Linked DNA regions of Homo sapiens: region 2 is linked to region 1. The links are contacts of gene promoters, found by promoter capture Hi-C in blood cells and fetal thymus (Javierre and others, 2016). All regions are on one chromosome and are shown on one strand. The core of a region is centred on a gene start or on the middle of the fragment in contact, and the rest is flanking DNA. Distances in the headings are between cores, read along the strand shown.

Region 1 (6,100 bases), core at 1,963-4,462:
CAGGAAAGCCAAACATCCCCTGCTTCCTCCTGTCCTGGACACGGGGTCAGAAGTGACTGTGAGTGGCAGAGACTACAGGAGGCCCAAGTGCCCACTGCACTTCCTCAGAGCCAGATGGATCCTGACCGCAGGTCCCACGTCACCTTCAGAGCTGGGACAAACAAACCCTTCACCGAAGTCTAAACAGAGTGAGGGAGGCTTTGTTATACACTCGGAACTGCCGCCCCTTTCCACCGAGAGGCTTAGCCCCAGGAAACACAGGACCCGGCTCCCAGCTGACACTGTGTTTATGTAACAGCCTAGGTCTGTTCCGCCCTGGGGCTGGGGGTGGAGGGCTGGGTCTCAGTCCAGCCTCAGACTGTGCTCGGAAACGCCCAGGGAGTCTGCGCCTCTCCCTCCTCGCAGAAAGAAGGTGGGGACACCGCTTCGCAGGACAGAAGCAATATGGTTTGGCAGATGGAGAGGAGTTCTATCGCAGGAAGGATATAGGGCAGAAACTGGAGAAGGAGTGGTTTTTTTTTTCTTTTGAAGACTGCCTACAGCAGAAAAGTGGGAACGCAAGACGGGTGAGGTGGATAAAGATGACGGTGCCAGGAGAGGCTGGGCAGGGGGGAGGGAGGGACAGCAGGGCAGCAGGGCAGCAGGGCCCAGGAGTGGGAACAGCAGGGCTGAGAACGGATGTGTGAGCCGCGGCTGGGTCGGTCTGGTGACAGTGAGACACCGGCTCCCGGGATTTCACGAGGGTGAGGCCGAGCTTCCAGGCCTAGTAGACGGAACCATGGGGTATTTCCAAACCGCAATGGAGAAGTCGGTCAGGGGAGGGCTCTAGGAGGGGAAATTCTGCCTGTTGTGTTAAATTTAAGATCAGGCAAAAAAAACTCAAGGGCGCCCCAGGAATCAGCCTTCACATCACAAAAGATGCTCAACCAGAGGCTCCCCTGAGCTGGGGAGGAGGGGTCGCTGCTCATCAAGCTGGAGCCAGGGGAGCCCGGAAACCTCTCCCTGCTCTGGGAAAAGCTCGGAAGCAGATGTGCCCCCACCCTCCTGTGGCCGGCCCACGAGGCTTGTCGCCCTCCAGAAGGAGCTGGGGGAAGGTAAGCTTGGAGCAAATCAGGAATGTCTTTACTTCCTCCAAGGACAGTGAAGCTGCAGCAACGATGTCTCTCCCGCCTCCACCCTCTTCAGATCTAAGAGGAAAAATTGGTCATCTCCTGTCTTTGGGGCCCAGGGCTCGCACAAATGCCATCTCCTAGTCCCCAGCCACAGCGGTGATTCAGGCCATTTACTCAGATCCACGTTAATGAGTTTTTTCTGTCACCTAATTAGTTCACAGAGAACTCAGCCTTGAGAGGAAAGAAATAAGAACGGGTTGGGAAAAGGCAGAAGGAAGTCAGACTGGCATGTCACAACAAAAGATAGAACCCAGCACCACATGGGGTCCCCCCAGACCCAGTACTTCTTCCCCGGCTATGGGGACCTCTGAAAGCAGAAAGGGAGGTGTTCAGGTGCACTATCCCCCAGAACCTCAGGCAAGCAGATGAAGCTGGGAGTGGGGCCCTAACCTTAAGGCCCAAGTCAGGGACAGGCCCCTGCCCATAACTCCATGTTATCGCAAAAGGCCTTGGCTCTCACTGCATTTCCACTGAGGCCAAACCCACCACCTGCCGGTGGGCGTCCCCTTTCAAACAGAGCTGGGGGAGGAAGCAGATGGCCCAGGGTGAGGCCCATCTGTCCGTGCCCGCTCGAAGGTCACCATGCCACCGGGGTGCCTGCGGGTGCCTCCAGCACCCACCACACCAGGGCTTGCGAGGCATCTGCCAGCAGCGTGCCACCACTTCCTGTGCCCTCAGCGGTCGAAAGTCCAGGGCCTAAGGGCCCAGAGAAAAAAGCGCTAGGCAGCGCAGTGGCCGGGGGTTTCCGGTCCCCGACTCCGGGTGCGGTGTCCCTGGCGGTCGGTCAGCACCCGGCTGCCCAGCAGCTGCCTCCAGACCGAGGAGCCGCGGATCCCCGTCAGGCTCATGACCCGGCCAAAGCGCGGATGGACCTGCCGGCGCCTCCCACGCGGTCGCTGAGCCTCAGCCCAGCGCCAGGCCCGGCCCGCTCCCGCTTGGCCGCCGCGGCGTAGGGGGTGTGCGTCGGGAGAGGGCGCCGCGGCGAGCGCCACCCTCCGGGCCTGCGGGCGCTGGGCCCGGGAAGGCTGCCATCCACTAACGCGAGGCTCCGATCCCCCGCCCCACTGCGGAGCAGGGCCCGGGCAGCGGCTAAGAAGCCTCCCCGGTCACGACCCCACCTCCCCGCAGCTGAAGCCCTCTGCCGCGCCCACCTTCCCCGGCCAGGCCTGGACAGATCTGGTCCCGGCCCCCCCAAGCGACACCACCTTCGCGCCCTGGAACACAGTCAGCAGAAAACCCCCAACCCCAAAGTGTCCCCGAACGAGATATGGCGAAGCTGCCCGCCGGTTCTGCAACACAGATCGGCAAACCTCGTGGCCTGGTCCTCAAGCGCGCAAGGACCCCCGACAGGGAGAGCATGGCCAGGCACGGCCTGTGGAGCCCTCGGCCGGCGCCGGAGAGGCCACTGCGCCCCGGCTCCCGCAGCCCCCGGCTCCGCTCACCCTCGATGGAGATGACGTGCTCCCGGATCTGGTTCTGCAGCGCCAAATCCTCGATGCGCTCGATCAGGTCGTAGATGGCGTAGATATTGGGATGCACGGACTCGAAGCGCTGGATCTCGGCCCGGATGGCCGCGGAGTTGGAGAGCGCGAACTGCTGGGGGGGCCCGCCGGCCAGCTGCTGCGAGGGGCCGCCGCCGCCCCCGGCCCCGGGCCCCGCGCCGCCGAACTGCCCGCCGCAGACGAGCTGCTGCGCGGCAGCGCCGCCGCCCCCCGGAGCCGCCAGGCTCTGCTGCTGCTGCGGGCTCTGCCCCCCGCCCGCCTGGAAGTTCATGGCTTCGGAGCCGTGGGGCCCGAGGCGGGCCCGGGGCGGCGCGGCGGAGGCGGCGGCGGCGGCGGCGGCGGCAGCGGCGAGCGGGAGCGCGGGGCTGGCGGGGCCGGGACTACTGGGCTGGCGGCGCGGGGCTAGCGCATGGAGCCGGGGGCCGGGGGCCGGAGGCCGAGGCCAGGAGGCGCCGCCGCGCACGCTGTGGCCGCCGCTGCCGAGCGCTTCCCAGCGCCGTGATCCCGCTGCCTCGGAGCAGCCTCCAGCGGCAACAACAACGGGACCGGGAGCGCGCGGCCCAGGCCCTCCCCCCGCGTCATGCGCACGCACCGCCGCCCCCGCCGGCTCCGGCACACGCAGCCCGAGCCCCCCTCCCCGCCGCCCCCGCCCCTCCTGCGCGCCGGCCCGGGCGCCCCCGCCCCTCGCTCGCTCGCTGGCTCTGCAGCCTCCACCCCCGAGCCGCGCGCTCCAGCCCTGGCGCCCCGGCCCCTCCCACTCAGCCTCGGCCCTTCCGCCTCCTCACCAGCCCCCACCCGCATTGCCTCGAGGGCCACCCTCGCGGAGGGGACAGCTGCCCTGGTCTCCTCCCGCGCCCGGCTGTCGCTTTCGCCTCCCTGCGCTGATCTGGGCGGGGTGTCGGATCTCTAGGCAATGCCCAAACAGTGCCCTGCGCCTGAGGGTGCTGCTGACCGAGGCTGATTGGCCGAGGAGTCCGCCCAGGCCCAGCTGCTCCTCGCTTACAGCGTCCCGCCTTCAGTGCGGCATAGGCTCCCCTGTCCCCAGGCTCCGAGGTCAGCCCTAGAGACCACCCTGCTGCCGGAGTTTTCTCCCTGTCTCCCTGCCCAGGCTCTCCACTGCCGGCTGCAGCAGTGCTCTCCTAAAAGACCCTCCCCCTGCCGGACTTGGGAGATTAGCTAAATGCTACCCGACCCCATTGGTACATAGAGGAAGAAGAGGGAGGGATGAAATAGTATATGCCTTTCTCCCCTACTCATCCCATTGGAGAGACCAACCAAAGCCCACGTGGCTCTCAATTTTTCTTGTCCTCACCCCTTGTCCATCCTGTCCTTTCACTCCCTCTAGGGCCAGGGAGCTCCCTGAAATGTCCCAGTTCCTCTGCAGTCCCATTGCCAAAGTGGGCTGCAGTTCTGTTAGCCCCCTCCCCCCCACCAACACACACACGTTTCCTAAAACCTACAAGAGGTGACATTTGCAGAGGCCGCAGCCAATAAATCTGCCAGAGATGTTGCAGGGTATCTGCTACCCCCAGATATCCTAGGGCATCAGTGACACACATCGTCCTTCTTACGCACACTTCCACTTCCCTGGCCAAGCTGGATCTTTTCCCAGCATGAAGCTGTCCACTGTTTGATTACCCACACAACTCAGCCCCAGAACCAACCCAGTCACTATTCCCGAGTTCCTTGTACCTTCCAAAGCACCTGGTGCAAGCTAATCAACACACAGGGTCTCCTAAGCTCCTGAGGAACCTGTGTTTCTATCTCCCTGCATAAGCTTAAGGATATCTTGTGCCCTCTCTGGGTTTCATCTGCGAAATATAGTGGTTGAACATAAAACCTAGTTCTGATGTTGTATAATTCTAAAAGTAACATCCAACATCTCTTTTAGGTGCTTAATTAGAATTGACAGCAGGAAGTAGCACCAGGTATACCTCCCAAGAGAGACACTAAGAGCAAAGAGCTCCTCAAATGTGTTGCCCCAGCAACTAGCACACACGTGTTATAGCACTGTTGGGCTGTTCACACGTCTAGCTCTTCTACTAGTATATGGAGCCACATGAGGGCAGGAAGAGGGTCTGATTCACCATTTTATTCCCAGTATCTTGCACAATGCCTGGGATATAGTGTGTGTGTGTGTGTGTGTGTGTGTGTGTGTGTGTGTGTGTGTAATTTTTTTTGAGACGGAGTCTCACTCTGTCACCCAGGCTGGAGTGCAGTGACTCGATCTCAGCTCACTGCAACCTCCACCTCCCGCATTCAAATGATTCTCCTGCCTCAGCCTCCCGAGTAGCTGGGATTACAGGCGCCCGCCACCACGCCCAGCTAATTTTTGTATTTTTTTTTGTAGAGACAGGGTTTTACCATGTTGGCCAGGCTGGTCTCGAACTCAGTGATCCGCCTGCCTTGGCTCCCAAAGTGCCAGGATTACAGGCGTGAGCCACTGCGCCTGGCCATAGTACATCTTTTAAAAAATATGTTAGTAGAATAAATGAATGAACAGGAGGGATGGAACTAGAGGTAGGTTAGTTCTGTATGGTATCAATCTAGACTGACATTCCTAAGGCAATATTTGGGCCACTTGCTCCCACAGTAGGCAAGAACCATGGGAAGACTAGGATAGATTATTTTAAATCAAGACTGGCCTGTAAAAACCAGGATGTGAGATCTCTGTGGCTACAGGAGCCCAGAGGGAAAAATCCAGATATCCACAGGCCTGGGATTCAATGCCATCCACACAGTAACACACCAAAGACCCGACTCCTGAGACCAGGTTTGGGTGGAGGTGAGCGAATAGCTACTGTGTGACATGTACCTTAGTTTTTACACTTTTTAATAAAACATCTAATTTCTTCCTTATGATTGACTTACGAGGTGTGTTTTAGAGAGGAAGAAATTAATGTTCAGAGAGATTCAATAACCCACCCAAGGTCATATAGCTGAGAAGCACAAGATAAGGGATCAGGATTTCTGCCAGGTTCCAAGGTCTATGCTTCTTCCACAGCCCTGAAGGGGCTGTGGAGTCCCGAAGGTGGAGGAGGGGACCAAGGAAAGGGGCAGCCCTGAGGATGGGTATCCCTAGCCAGCCTGGTGGGGCAGCCCATGGATATTGGGCTCTGGGCTGAAGAATTAATTTTGGTGGCCAAAGTGCCTTCTGGCGTCCACTCTGACATAACAGTAGGGGCCACCTGAGTTCCTCAGAGCCTTCCACACTGCATCACGAACACGGGTACTCTGACGTGCTCCAGCTGACGTCGGTGTCTGGTGTGATAGATGCCCTGGCTGTTGGCAGGGGAGGGGGCGGACGCTGCTGCCGCCCAAACCTCTAGGGGGTAGCACAACCCCCAAAACCGCCCCCGCCAGCCCCTTCGCGATCTGCAGGCGCAGAGAACCGCGGGTGGAGCCCCACACGTGGGTCCGCAGGGC
Region 2 (6,100 bases), core at 1,503-4,002, 7.7 Mb after region 1:
TCCTGAACTAGAAGGCAAGAACCATTTTGTAATTACAGCTTTTCTATTTTGAGCATTCCTGTACTAGATACAGAACCCAACACTCTCTAGGTATTAGCTCACCCAATCTTCACAACCACTGTATGGAGTAGAGAATGTTAAAGATTGAGAAACTGAGGCTCAGGGTTCACCTAACTTGCCCAGTCTAAGGACTTGGGAGAAGCTGAGCCAAGAATTCCATTCCAGGTCCATCTGACACCTGAAGGCTGAGCTTCTTGCAGAGATCTCTTCCCTCCCATGTCCTACCCTCCTGGGCACAGAGCACAGTGCCTGGCACGTGGTGGATGCTGGCTCAACCAGTGTTTACTGGGGCTGTCTCTTACCTCCAAGCCCTCAGGCAGAAAGAGTGCTCAGAGGAGCAGGGAGATTAACTCAAGACCCAAGAATGGGAAAAACCAAGGTGGAACTGGTGATCTCATCCCTCCCTTTAACTTTCTGGGGTAAAGGCACAAGGAAAGGTCCACCAGATCCTCCTAATTCAGAGCCCATGCTCTCTGCGCCGTCCCAGCCAGGCCCCACCCAGCCCCACACCCAGCCAGGCCTCTCCTCCAGAGGAGCATTTTCCTACCATTGTTCCACCAGGCTAACCCCAGAGGATGAAAATTCCTATCCCGCCACCCCGCAACCCCCGTGTCCACCCTGACTCTCCAATCACCTTATGCTTATGCTCTGGCTCCTGACCCAGCCCCGCCCCAGTGCCCTGGTACCAAGCCTTGTCCTATCACCATCCCTCACCTGGTTTTGGTTCTGAGCCGGTGGGGGCACGGGGTGCTGCTTCTCCTGCACTCGGGGCTTCTCCCTCTGCTGGGCATAGGTGAAGCTGGGAGGTTGAGGGGAGCCTGTGCCAGCAGAAAGAGCTTCGGGGTGCCCCAATTTTTGATTTGGTTGTGACCCAGATCCACCTGGGGCTCCAGGACTGAACTTGGAAGCCACAGGAGTAAACTTAGGAGTCACTGGAGAAAACTTAGGGGCTGGAGCCGGAGATGAGGCTGGGGGCCCTCGGGGCTGGGTGTTAGCCAAAGACACAGGCTGGGTCTGGGACTGGACATGGAGTTGGACCTGAGGCTTGGGCTGGGGCTGGGGCTGAACATGGAACTGTGTCTGGCTCTGAGCCGGAGCCGGAACCTGGGGCAGAGGCTGGGAGCTGGAAGGGGACTTCCAAGGAGGCAGGGGTGCTGTGCCCCCGGCTGCAGGCTTGGTACTGGACTTGGAACTGAATGGAGTGGCCACTGGTGGGGGCACATATCCAGATGACACCTGCAAGGGGTGGGAGAGGGAAGAGAGATGCAGTCAGGAGGACACCATCCTCCTTAGTTCTATGCCCAGTCTCTCTGGCCCTGAGCCCTGCTTTTCCTACTCTCCGGTCCCTTACCCGGGCTTTGAAAGGATCATTCTTGGTCATGTCATCCAGCAGTGAGGACAGAGAGTCGATCTCCAAATCAATACTGCTCACCTTCTCCCTGGGCTAGAGGGTCAGAGGTCAGAGCACCTATTCCATGCCTCTATCCCCCCACCCCCAAGGCAGAGGTGCAGGGGAGGTAAGAAGAAAGGGCCCTCTTCTCCTCTCCTTGGGGGTGTCCAGTGCAGCCGCCCCTCCCAGGCCTCCGTACCTGTGGTGGGGGCGGTATGGGGGCCTCAGGCCCTCCCTCCTCCTCCGGAGGAGGCGGCGGGGAAGGGAAGATCTCCTCCTCCAGAGGCGCAGGGGGAAATGATTCCTCGATCGGGGGAGGGGGCGGCGGGAAGGCACCTCCCAGAGCACCCTCTGCATCGTCGCCATCCCCAGCAAGGGGAGGTGGAGGCAGGGGAAAGTCTGGGGTAGGAAGGAGAAAGACGTCGGCCGGGGTCCCTCTACCCCTCACCCAAGCTCCCCTCAGTTAACCGCTCTAACCCCTAACCCAAGAACTCTCTCAGGGGTCCCAGAGCGTGTGGGGAAGCAAAGGAGGGGCGCAGGGCGCCCTGGGAGTACCAGGTCAGGAAAGGCCGGGCGCACTGCCGAGGAGTGGTGCAGCTCCCGTTACACTTCGGAAAACGGACCCGGAGGGGAAGATTCGTGCCCCACATTCCCGACTCCCACTCCCAGGCGGGGGACTTGGAACGGTCCCAGGAGCCCTGGCTCCCAGCCACGAGCTCCACGATGAGGTAAGAACATCTGCTCGGGACAGGGTGGCTGCGCCCAGCCCCCTCGGCAACAACCTTTCCAGACATCCCCAAATTCCCGAAACGACTGCCCCCCACCCCGGCTCCTGCCGGGGTACATTCCCCAAGCCCCGCCGCATACCTTCCGGGGGCGGCGGGGGAATCTCGCCCACCCGGCCCATCTGTGCGCGCTGGGCCCCGGGTGCCGGGGGAGGCTCGCTGTCCCCGGGCCGGAAGGGATTCACTTTGGGCTTTGGGGCCACCACAGGGCCGAACTTCTTCTGCGGGGCGTAAAAAGCCGGAGCCGAGACCGAAACGGAGATCGCGGGAGACGGGCGGGGGGCCGCCATGGCCGGGCCGGGCTGCTGGGGTGGGTCGCCGGGTTACGCAGCGCGGAGCCGGGCTCAGGAGCCCCAGGCGGTCCCAGCTCCCCTTGGTGACCCCCACTCGCCCCCTCCCGGCGCCCCGCGCCCCCTCCCCGTGGGGCCGCCCTGCCGCTCCCCGCGCCTCACCGCAGGCCGGAGCGTGCGCGCCGCGTCTCGGGTGGCCGCCTCGGCGCCGGGTCCGCAGACTCTGCGTCCCGGTCCGGAGCAGCCTCCAGCCGGGCGGGGAGGGACACACGGAAGGAGGAGGGAGGGAGAAGAGAGGGGGCGGGGAGAGAGCGGCGCCCAGACCATACAAGGAGCGGCCCGGAGAGGGGGCGGGGAGAGCGGGGAAGGGCGGACCAGGCAGGAAACTCCCCCAGGAAGGGGCCCTGATCCTGCCTCAGGCCGGAGGCTCCGCCGAGGTCCGCTCGCCCCCACCCCACTCACTGCCGCCCCCGCCGCCCCAGCCCGGCTCAGACCCCCACTCCCTGAGCACAGGCCTCTGATGTCATTTCCTGACCTGCCTCCCCCTCCCCGCCCGACCCGCGGGTGCCCGAGATCTGACTCACCGTCCCCCTCCGGGCTTAGCCGGCGGAGGTGGGGCGGGTGCCGCCGAGGTAGCCACGCAGCCCCTGTGCGCCTCCGGCCCGGCCCAGCGACCTCCTCTCGGGCCTGCCGTTACCCGGTCCCCTCCTGCCACCACCCGCTACCCGGCCACCCCGAGTCCGCCTGGGGTGGCCGAACGTATGGAGCTGGGCTCCAGGGTGCACGGGGATGGGGGGTGAGGAGCGGGGCGTTCTCCCTCCCAGCACCCCCCAGCTGACTCTGTGCCCGGAGGGGGTGTGTGAGCCGGAACCTCCAGCATTCTTGGGGATACGAACTTCCAACGCTGGGCAGCCTCTTAAGGCTTCTAGGAATTCGCATCCCCAGCGCCCCAGCCAGCAGATCGGTTGCGAGAGGGACCGTTCGGGTCCGCGGGGCCGGGAATGGAGGTGGGAGGGCGGGGCCGAGGCGGCGGCCGCCTGCGGACTGGAGACCCGGGAGGACGGACGCGGACGCGGGCTGCTCGTCTTTTACGGCCCTTCAACGCCCACCACGACCCACTCCTCTTGGAGACCCCGGGCGACGGTGGGGCTCTTGGGCATTCTGAGACTGCGCTTGGTGGAGACCCCGGGCGACGGTGGAGCTCTTGGGCATTCTGAGACTGCGCTTGGTGGAGCCCCCTACTGGCCAGACTGGATTTCTCAGCCTGCGACTCAGCCCCAGGCTACACGAAAGAAGCCAGACCTGGGTAATTCTTCTAGTTCTTTTTTTTTTTTTTTTTAATTGCACTGGGAAACTTCCCCAATCTCGGCCCCAGTTCTTTCTCCAAACTAAGGAGTCATGGCCTTTCGCCCGCTAGTCCAGTATGCACCCGTAGGCGCTTCATTTTCTCTCCTCTTGTCAGCTTTTACTGCCTCCTGAGGCCTTCGTCTTGTTCACACTGAGTGTCCAGTCCCTCCAAATCCGGCTACACTCTACTGGCAAGGAGCACCTGGGCCATGTTTTAGAGATCATCCGAGGACTAACCCCAAAAGTTTATGAAGAGAAAGCAGAGGCCGAGCTGAAGAGATGGACCCGGGTCACACCCAGGTAAAGGCAGGATCTAAACTGAAACTGGTGTCAGATCTGGTTGCCTTGCACCCCTGATATCAGGTGAAGCAACACTGGGCAGGATAGAGCAGAGTGAGGTCAGAGTGTGAAGATCCAGCCTGATGCCCAAACTGACGCCTCTTCATTCTCCCCTGCTCCATCTGTAAACGTCACGGTTAATCCATCTACTTTATTGCATTATATAGAGAAATAAATGAAATGTCATAGCTGTATGCGCTATATGACTCAGTATTATTATTCAAATTCCAGTTCTGCCCAGAATGAAAATTCTGACCTGGTTACACTAAGGCGTTTTCCCCCATATGTCCCTTTCTGGGTTGCCAGGCAGATCTCTCAGGGGCCTCGGTATGTGCAATGTCCTCTCTTTCCTTCAACCTTATTAAGTCTTTAATTATACCTAGGACGACATCTTAATCACTTTTGCAAACCCCACTGATCTTTTTCTCTGGCATCTCATTGTCTTTGTCACCACCAGTATTTCTCACAGCCACAGGCATGTGTGGCCATGTATGATGGGTAGTACGCAGTGCACACCTCTCTGACACGCTCAAGCCAGCCCTGGGCCTGTCTCTGAAGACATGTTAGAAATTTGATACTGGATTTCCTGTGCATGTTGGAGATTGTGTCTTGGGCTTCACAGACCAAAAGTCTCATCACAAATCCTTCAAAATATGGCCCCTTTGGGGAAAAAAAGATAGTTAAGAAGATGATTTCAAGATAACTCATAGGAATAAAAGCTATCTACCCTCTAAATGTCTCCTTAAGTAATGTGCGCGTGCAAAATAGAGTATGTGTAATTGTTAGGCAGCTGAACCTATTTTTAAATCAGAAATAGAAGAGTGCGTAGGCAGGCATAGTTTTACTGACAACTAAGAGCATTCAGAATGCGGAATATTCAAACAAAGACTTTTAAGCCAGCCATTCTAAATACAAGTAGAAACACCCAGAGTATCCCAGAAGAACAGAATCACTGCCCAAGATGTCTCAAGAGGAGCAGCAGAGTCAGTGCTCTTAAAATGAAGACAATGGGCTGGGCGCAGTGGCTCACGCCTGTAATCCCAGCACTTTGGAGGCCAAGGCAGGCAGATCACTTGAGGTCGGAAGTTTGAGACAAGCCTGACCAACGTGGTGAAACCCAGTCTCTACTAAAAATACAAAAATTAGCCTGGTGAGGTGGCGGGAGCGTGTAGTCCCAGCTACTGGGGAGGCTGAAGCAGGAGAAGAATCGCTTGAACCCAGGAGGCGGAAGTTGCAGTGAGCCAAGATCACGCCACTGCACTCCAGCCTGGGCAACAGAGTGAGACTCCATCTCAAAAAAAAAAAAAAAAAAAATGCAGGAAATGAACAAGAGTGGCCTTAACGATTGCTGGGCATTTTTCTTAAGTAAGCAATTCTAATTGATATCCTTAGGCAGTATGTGTGAAGTACAGCAAATAAGAAGATGTTCCTGACTAAAGAATGCCCAACAGCTTAAGACCAGGCCAGGGAGACAAAGTGAGAAAATGGCCACTGCCCTTTACTACCTAAAACATCTTCACGCGCCTCCAAGGATTTATAACCATCAGGTACCAGAAAGTTTTCTTCAAGAGTGCACAGCATAAAGTAGGAAGTTAAGAGCAGTCAGGGAAGGAAAATGAAAAGACAGTGTCACAACAAAAGAATGATTTCTAAAATGGAAAGAGAAATGTGACCAGGAGGTTCTTTCCATATGCCAACTGCAGATGGATAGAGGTTCACTCACGGGCCAGGGACCACGTGAAGCATTCTGAAAACAGCAACAATAGCAGCACCCTAATAACATCAACAACTATAATAGCAGCACACGCTGAGAGAATGCTTAGAATATTGTTTGAGGTGCAATGCTAAGCACTTTAAATATATTAGCCCTGGCCAGGCACAGTGGCTCA

The links. The method cuts DNA at HindIII sites, captures the fragments that hold promoters and counts their contacts. A CHiCAGO score of 5 or more calls a contact.
Region 2: the fragment with the promoter of ZYX here is called in contact with the fragment with the promoter of AGAP3 in region 1 in 1 of 17 cell types (M0 macrophages); the score reaches 6.2 in M0 macrophages.

The regions. Positions count from the first base shown.
Region 1 is chr7:151,083,587-151,089,686 of GRCh38, reverse strand. It overlaps AGAP3 (ArfGAP with GTPase domain, ankyrin repeat and PH domain 3), which reads right to left and starts at 3,212. Exons shown (of 18, transcript NM_031946.7): 1 at 2,615-3,212. The coding sequence starts at 2,945. LOC124901778 (a long non-coding RNA gene) reads right to left here and starts at 684. Exons shown (of 2, transcript XR_007060595.1): 1 at 1-684. RefSeq lists enhancers at 1-159, 1,657-1,816 and silencers at 2,037-2,306, 2,667-2,736, 3,103-3,192, 3,243-3,492, 6,041-6,100. The HindIII fragment of the contact is 3,352 bases long and covers 1,102-4,453 here.
Region 2 is chr7:143,377,997-143,384,096 of GRCh38, reverse strand. It overlaps ZYX (zyxin), which reads right to left and starts at 2,752. Exons shown (of 10, transcript NM_003461.5): 1 at 2,688-2,752; 2 at 2,318-2,540; 3 at 1,650-1,849; 4 at 1,412-1,504; 5 at 775-1,296. The coding sequence starts at 2,525. It overlaps FAM131B-AS2 (FAM131B antisense RNA 2), which reads left to right and starts at 3,072. Exons shown (of 2, transcript NR_161353.1): 1 at 3,072-3,831; 2 at 3,988-4,942. It overlaps MIR6892 (microRNA 6892), which reads right to left and starts at 1,411; the gene lies at 1,297-1,411. It also overlaps a transcript of FAM131B not described here. RefSeq lists silencers at 2,233-2,282, 2,313-3,342 and enhancers at 3,843-3,932, 3,056-3,956, 4,113-4,192. The HindIII fragment of the contact is 8,995 bases long and covers 1-6,100 here.